Linked DNA regions of Homo sapiens: region 1 is linked to region 2. The links are contacts of gene promoters, found by promoter capture Hi-C in blood cells and fetal thymus (Javierre and others, 2016). All regions are on one chromosome and are shown on one strand. The core of a region is centred on a gene start or on the middle of the fragment in contact, and the rest is flanking DNA. Distances in the headings are between cores, read along the strand shown.

Region 1 (3,794 bases), core at 1,029-3,528, 1.3 Mb before region 2:
TTATCCCGTCTTTCCTCTTTCTTCAATACACACTCTCTATTGACACTTTCCTACCATTACATAAATATGTCCAATTTTATCTTGAACCTGAAATCCTTCTCTTTATGAAAGCCAAGCATTGAAAAAAAATCTTAACACCGAGGTTTTCTATTTCTTATGTTTTCCAAGCCCAACCTCTTCCTATTCAATCTATTCTGCAACCTGTGGCGAAATCTGGTTTCTGTTTCCAGCATCTAGAGAAACTTCTCATTAGATTACCAATGACTCAAATAAAAATAAAACGGGCATTTTTTTTTTTTTTTTGAGACAGAGTTTCACTCTTATTGCCCAGGCTGGAGTGATCTTGGCTCACTACAACCTCCACCTCGCGGGTTCAAGCAATTCTCCTGCCTCAGCCTCCCAAGTAGCTGGGATTACAGGCACCCGCCACTGTGCCTAGCTAATTTTTTTGCATTTTTAGTAGAGATGGGGCACCATGTTGGTCTCGAACTCTGACCTCAGGTGATCCACCCACCTCAGCTTCCCAAAGTGCTGGGATTACAGAAGTGAGCCACCGTGCCTGGCCTAAAATGGGCATGTTTCAGTCCTTATGTTATTCAGCAGCATCTAACACTGTTGACCACCCCTATTTCTTGACATTATCTGTTTTTGGTTTCTACACTACCACATTCTTTTATTTCCTTCCCTACTTCTTTGGCCTTTTCTGATAAATTTCCCTCATTTATTTCTTTTCCTTTGTCAACTGACTTTTGTTATTGTTACCCACATTTACATCCTTACTTGTTCTGTATATACACCCTCCAGATATCTCCAGTTAAATGCCTCACAAAGGGCTCACAATTAACATGGTCATCATCATCTGCTTTCATGCCTTTCCCCACCTTTAATTATCTCTTGAAAGGCACCATCATCCATTACCCTATAGTCTCAAAGCAGCAATCATCCTGTATTTCTCCCTTCTTCTCACGTTAATCAATCATCCAAATCCTGGATTTCTCTCTAGCACCTATCTTTCATCCCTCACAATCATGTAGCTGCCTTATAATCTTTGGCTCCAGTCTTTAGGCTGCCAACACATTATATATGCCTTACTGATTCTAGAAGAGATCTCTATAAAACAGAATTCTACTCAAGTCATCACCTGTAGATTTAGCAGCTCCCCATCACCTTTAAGATCGAATCAAGCTCTTTGCTATGATACAACTCTTCATGACACAGTCTCTAAGCCTCAAGTCATGTTCCTACCTACTTTATCATACTTTATGTAGGCAAATTGTTTGTGTTACAGTCTTTCATGTCTTATCTTCACATATCTCATTTACTAAATGTCCCTCAACACTGTTTACCTGGCAAACTTTTGGTTTTAAGATTCAAAGCAATCTTTAAGTTTAAAGCAACAGTTCCTCTACAAAGCCTTTACTAAGTCCACTAGACAGATTCAGGTGTTCTATTTTTTTATTACCAGCCCTCGACCATAATTCTATTATTGCTATGATTACACTGCATTTTTTAACTGTTCGTTATTTGTCTCTTCCACTAGATTGTAAATTCTTTGTGAGAAGGCAGTCTCTTCAGAATATTTGTTCAGTTATGTTAGTTGGATTAGTGGATACTGTTCTGTCAATTTCATTCAAATGAATAAGACAAAATGATCATTACTTGAAGATGATATGAATATATACCTAAAATTCCTGGAAGAAGCAAATGAAAATATAATCATAACAAGATTAAAAAGCTTGTTCTTAGTACAAAAAAAGTTAGTAAATATTATACAGAAATGATATAAATGCTTCACAATAGTAACAAAAAACATAAAACCTAGGAATAAACATAAGAAATGTGTAAGATCCATAAAAATATTCCATACAATTTTTCTGAAAGACAAAAGGATACAGTTAAACAGAGTCAACCAAATGGCTAAAGAGATTCAATATTATAAGGATCTCAATTCCTTTCAATCTATGAAACTAATCATTCCAATCAAAAATCACATGAACCAATAAAAAAGTAAATAAATCTAAAGTTTAGAAGAAGGCAGACTAGTGAAGTACATCCTGAAAAAGATTATTAAAGAATGACTTATATTACCAGACACAAAATGTAATATATTGTTAAAGCGAATAAAACAATGACATTCACATAAAAATAAATAGGTCAACAGGATAGGCAGGTGAAAAAAACAAGAGTAAGGCTTCCACACAGAGCAGCCTTGAAGTGACTATCCATTAGATCTGGGCTTGGCAATGCTTATGCAATATCTTCCCATCCTGTGGTCATGGCCAATTTTTCTACACAGATAGTTGTCTCAAAGTGGGTTTCGCCAAAGAACCTGGAATTAAAACTGAAATCGCTAGTTATTCGGAAGGTAGCTAGAATTGTAACCTATCAAACCAGAAGCCAAAAGGACAGAAGAATGTGAACATAAGGAGAAAAGACTAAACCGTCAAGGAGAAAAAAGAGATAAGACAGTGTTATAGACTGAATGTTTGTGTTCCCACCAAATATTCATATGGTGAAGCCCTAATCCACAATGTGATGATATTTGGAGGCGGGGCCTTTGGGAAGTAATTAAATTTAGATGAGGTCATGAAGGTTGGGCCCCCATGATGGGATTAGTGTTCTTATAAAAAGAGGAACAAAGACCAGAACGTTTGCTCTATCTCTCTCCCCTTCTGCCATGTGAAGACACAGTAATAAGGTGGCAATCTGCAAGTCATTGCGGAAAGAGTCATTAAAATTGAAGATGTCAAAGATCTGAGAAATTAAGCTATCAACTGTATCATCGATGTAGCTATTAAAGTTTTTTTAAAAATAAGCTTGAAAAGGAAAAGTATGAATGAAAAGCCAAAACTATAAAGCTAGACAAGAGTTGCATTATGAAAAGCAGTTAAGATGATGTAGAAGAGAATACTGCATTGCAACAGTAGAGTAATAGTGATCTCTCATCAAGGGAGCTCTCACCAAAGGGATGGAGATAGTGTTTATTGAGGAGGATGAAAAGACTGTGGGAGGAGAAATGATGAATATGGAAAGCTGTATTTAAGCTGAAATAAAGAAGACAGCCTACAAGTAGAAGATCATCTGTGGGCACACTGTCACACCTTGTCCATATGGTATTTACATGCTGCAGTTCTAGGAGAAGGCAGGGCCAGGCACTTACTTGGTTCTATCAACCAGAATACCATATGTATGGATAAGCTGGCAGTGACTGAGAGACAACATGGTATATTAAAACACACACACACACACACACACACACATATCAGCAGCTGATATGGCTGAAGACTAAAGTGGTGTGCAGGAAAAAACAGGTGAGGCAAGAAAGATAGGCAGAGGCTATACTTGGAAGGTCCTATATGATAAGAAATTAAGATTTTTATCATTTAAGCTATCAGGAACCATCAGAAGTTTTACACAGTTAACTAATACAAAATCACTTTGGTGGCAGTAGAGAGAATATATTTTAAAAAAGGAGACTAGTGGCAAGGGGGTAGTTTAGGGGTTAATGTAATAATCCAGTTAAGAGATACTGAGTCTTAAGTTAACTGTACTTACTCAGTCATATAAATATTTAAGAAGCATATAATATAGGCCTGGCTCTGTGCTAAGTGCTGGAGAAATCAAATGCAACAGGTATATCTACCATCCTCACAGTAATCAGTGAGGTTAGAAAAGTAACATATATAGAATGATTGTAGTATAGTATGATAAATTCAATAGCAGGAGTATATACAAGGTAAAACAAAGAAAGGAGTGCTTAGCTCTGGTAAAACAAAGAAAGAGAAGGCCCTTGA
Region 2 (3,808 bases), core at 967-3,466:
GTTCTAAACTCTAAGACCTGTCATTTTTCATTCTAAGTGATCAGAGTTTTAGGCACATCAGAACCACAAAAAAAGTTCTTTATACCCTTTGAAAAATACACTAAAAATGTGATCTCTGTTTTATATATATGTGTGTGTGTGTATATATTATACATATATAAATTATATATACACATATATAATATATATAATATATATACATATAATATATATATTATATATACATATATATTATATATATAATATATATTATATATATAATATATATGTATATATATTATATATATTATATATATACATATAATATATATACATATATAATATATATTATATATACATATATAATATATATATTATATATACATATATTATATATATATTATATATACATATATTATATATATTATATATACATATATTATATATATAATATATATTATATATACATATATTATATATATTATATGTACATATAATATATATATTATATGTACATATAATATATATATTATATGTACATATATAATATATATATTATATGTACATATATAATATATATATTATATATACATATATAATATATATATTATATATACATATATTATATATATTATATGTACATATATTATATATATTATATATATATACTTTTTACTTCATAATTCTTAGCACTTAGCACAGTAACAGGTATATAGCCAGTACTCAGTAGATGTTTGTTGGATGAAAGGTCACAGGCTGAGTGCTAAGTCCAAAAAGTGAGCAGGATCAAAGTTTAATTTCTTGAATAATGAGTTCATACTTACAAGTCTCTGCTCTTTTAAAATTTCCCATTTCAACTATCTTTGGGCTCTGTCAGGGGCGTGGACAAGAGATAGGAGCACTAGTCTAGGAGTTAGGCCGCCTTGGTAAGAGTATTGGCTCTATCACTGTCTAATTTTGTCACCCTGAGAAAGCCATTATGCAGGGCTCTTTTTTTTTCTTAAGAAAAAATGTATTTTTTGCCCCTTTAAGAAAATAAATCATTTTTTATAGAAAAAAGTCAAAACCACTTTGATAAAGTGCTATAAAATGCAAAGGTGTCATCATCCTTGCCTAATTATACAACAAGCCCGTGTAATAAATGCTCTAATAATTATAACCGTACAAAACTAGAGGTACTGCAGTCACACTCATAGGAAGAGTAATTCTGATTAGGACTAAAGGGTTGGTTGTTCGGGAAGTTCTCAGAGATGGTGACATTTAAGATAGCATTCCAGAGAGAGAACGGGTAAGGCCATTCCAGGCAGCAGGAAAGCTGAAGCAAAGGCGGGAGCAGGGAGAACCACAAAAGCACAGTGTGCCTCCTGGGTACTAAGCAGAGATCGCGTGGGCTCCTGGACCTCACTGAGTGTTTGCAGAAGAAGCCGCAGAGCTACCTGGGGCCAAGTTAGGATCCTCGACTGCTTTGCTAGGGAATTTCGTAATTATACTGGAGGAGCGATCCACGCCTTAGCAGCAATCACTCACACAGTTTTCCAGTTTACGACGTGCTATCCCATCCCGTACCACATCTACTCCTTACAGGAGCCCTCAGAGACAATCAGGGATAAGTCATTGACTCATTCAACTGAGGCCCCGAGTGGTGGCTCTGACTTTATAATGCAGGAATTAGAGCAGAAAGAAGAGGCAGCGGGCGAGGAGGCCAATGATGGAGGCTCAGGCCACAGCCTAGGCCAGGAAGGCCGTGAGTCTGCAGCAGGGGCCAAGGCGGTGCGGACCGAATGATCTGAGCCTCCCCAGCCAGGCCCCCTCCTACTCACCCTCGCCTCCTCCAGGACTGACGTCCCGGGGGCGGCTCCAGGAGGCGCAACCCGGACCGGGCCGCCCCTCCTGCCGGGCCGGTACACTATATCCAGCCAGGTCAGACCCCACGGCGCTGAAGCTAGCCGAGCCCCTCAAAAGGCCGCCCGAGGCTTTCGGCCGCACATCCTTCTGGGAATTGTAGTTCCCATCCTCTGAAGCACCGCGTACACCCGCCCTCCGCCCTTCTATCCCACAGGACCCCGCGCGCAGAGGACTCAGTGGACCGGGGCCGAGAGCCCAATGGGAAAGGAAGTTCTAGATGACGGACGACGTGCGGGGTGAGGCTAGTGCAGGACTACATTTCCCGAAGTGCACCGAGGTGGGCAGGACCCGGAAGTGAGGGTGTGAGAGGCCTCTCTGGAAGTTGTCCCGGGTGTTCGCCGCTGGAGCCCGGGTCGAGAGGACGAGGTGCCGCTGCCTGGAGAATCCTCCGCTGCCGTCGGCTCCCGGAGCCCAGCCCTTTCCTAACCCAACCCAACCTAGCCCAGTCCCAGCCGCCAGCGCCTGTCCCTGTCACGGACCCCAGCGTTACCATGCATCCTGCCGTCTTCCTATCCTTACCCGACCTCAGATGCTCCCTTCTGCTCCTGGTGAGTGAGGGAATGACAGACCCATCGACAAACGCACGAACGGCCTCCGGCCCTCGCCCAGGGGGAACACTGCTACTCCTGCCCCTGCTTTTCCGTCTTTTCCTGCAGTGTTTTGGAGTGCACCCTCCCCCGCTGCCCTCACTCTCGCCTGTCGGCTTCCAGGCGCGGAGTCCCCGAGGCCTGAGAAACCAGTGTCGGGGGAGAATGGGAGAATTAGCCCTGAGGGACTGATACGTAGTCACGGCGTAGGAGCTTCCCCTTCTCCCCGAAGTCCGGGGGTTTCGGTTTCGAGGGCTAGTGGACCTGGTGGTAGCTTGAATCGGAAAAGACCAAGCATAGACCTAGCGTTCCTTCCCACCCTCTCCATTTGGGAAGAGTGTGAGGTCGACAGGTGCTGGGGTTGTGTGACTCTCACTGGGTCTAGATCCCTGAAGCGGTGCCCGGGTTGGCAGATCCCTCTGTTGTGGCTTGATGCGATTGGTTGGGAACCCGGAACTGGAGACTGGTTTGGATTCCACTGGGAGAATAGAGTTTGAAGGGTGGAAGGTGTGGTTACCTGACAATCTCAGCTCAAGGCCTCCCTCAAATCTTATTGCAACGTATTTCCCCATGGAAGCAGATTTCTTCTTCATTGCGCCTTATTTGAATATGCATTCATTCCTAACTGCCTAACCTGCTCAGCATCATCCCATCTTAAAAGAATCTTTCCCTAGTCCCTCTTGCCCCAGAGTACGTCTTGAGTGTGCAGACTAATTGATCCAGGCTTCAGGTCAAATTGAGACAAAAGCGAAGGACTAAACACGTATGGCAAAATGGCTTATATTTAATTGGGCTGTTAATTATAATGTAATATTTGAAAGTACCTTAATTGTAGTAGATTTTTAGAAATTCAGATTTAAACATTAAGAACTACTTTCTTTACAATTTAAGAAACGATTTAGTGACGCATATGAAGTCACACAGCTAGTTACAGGCAGAGCTGGGATTAGAAACAAGTCTCTTGACTTCCAGTGCTTATTCCGCCATATCCCATTAAATGTTTAATATTTGTGTTTGAAATAGTTCTTTCTTTTCTTTTGTCACTTGGACCTTTTCGGAAAAAGCACTGTAAAAAACTAAATGGCATGTCAAAGTACTTTTGAGAACAAAAAGTTGTGTATAAACATTGTAATATTAAATGATAGAGTGTCTTATTGCCACTTCTTATAAGTATACAACAGTGAATGACTTCTGTATCGAGGAAAATATTCTGTATAGTGTTGTTTCTTGGTGATTTCATTATACACTGTGATACATTTTTCCTTCTAGAAGTGTTAGAATAATACCATTATTAGAGACCACTCTCTCCTTAAGAAGACTGGATACTAATCTTATCC

The links. The method cuts DNA at HindIII sites, captures the fragments that hold promoters and counts their contacts. A CHiCAGO score of 5 or more calls a contact.
Region 1: a contact is called between a fragment that was not itself captured here and the fragment with the promoter of ERP44 in region 2, in 1 of 17 cell types (neutrophils). The highest score is 5.5, in neutrophils.

The regions. Positions count from the first base shown.
Region 1 is chr9:101,402,565-101,406,358 of GRCh38, reverse strand. All of the region lies in intron 2 of ZNF189 (zinc finger protein 189), which reads right to left. Among named protein-coding and RNA genes, the nearest start is that of ZNF189, 5.6 kb to the right of the region's middle. The HindIII fragment of the contact is 1,081 bases long and covers 1,738-2,818 here.
Region 2 is chr9:100,097,408-100,101,215 of GRCh38, reverse strand. It overlaps ERP44 (endoplasmic reticulum protein 44), which reads left to right and starts at 2,216. Exons shown (of 12, transcript NM_015051.3): 1 at 2,216-2,432. The coding sequence starts at 2,376. INVS (inversin) reads right to left here and starts at 1,973. Exons shown (of 17, transcript NM_014425.5): 1 at 1,800-1,973. RefSeq lists a silencer at 1,700-1,909 and enhancers at 2,150-2,289, 2,300-2,369. The HindIII fragment of the contact is 16,824 bases long and covers 1-3,808 here.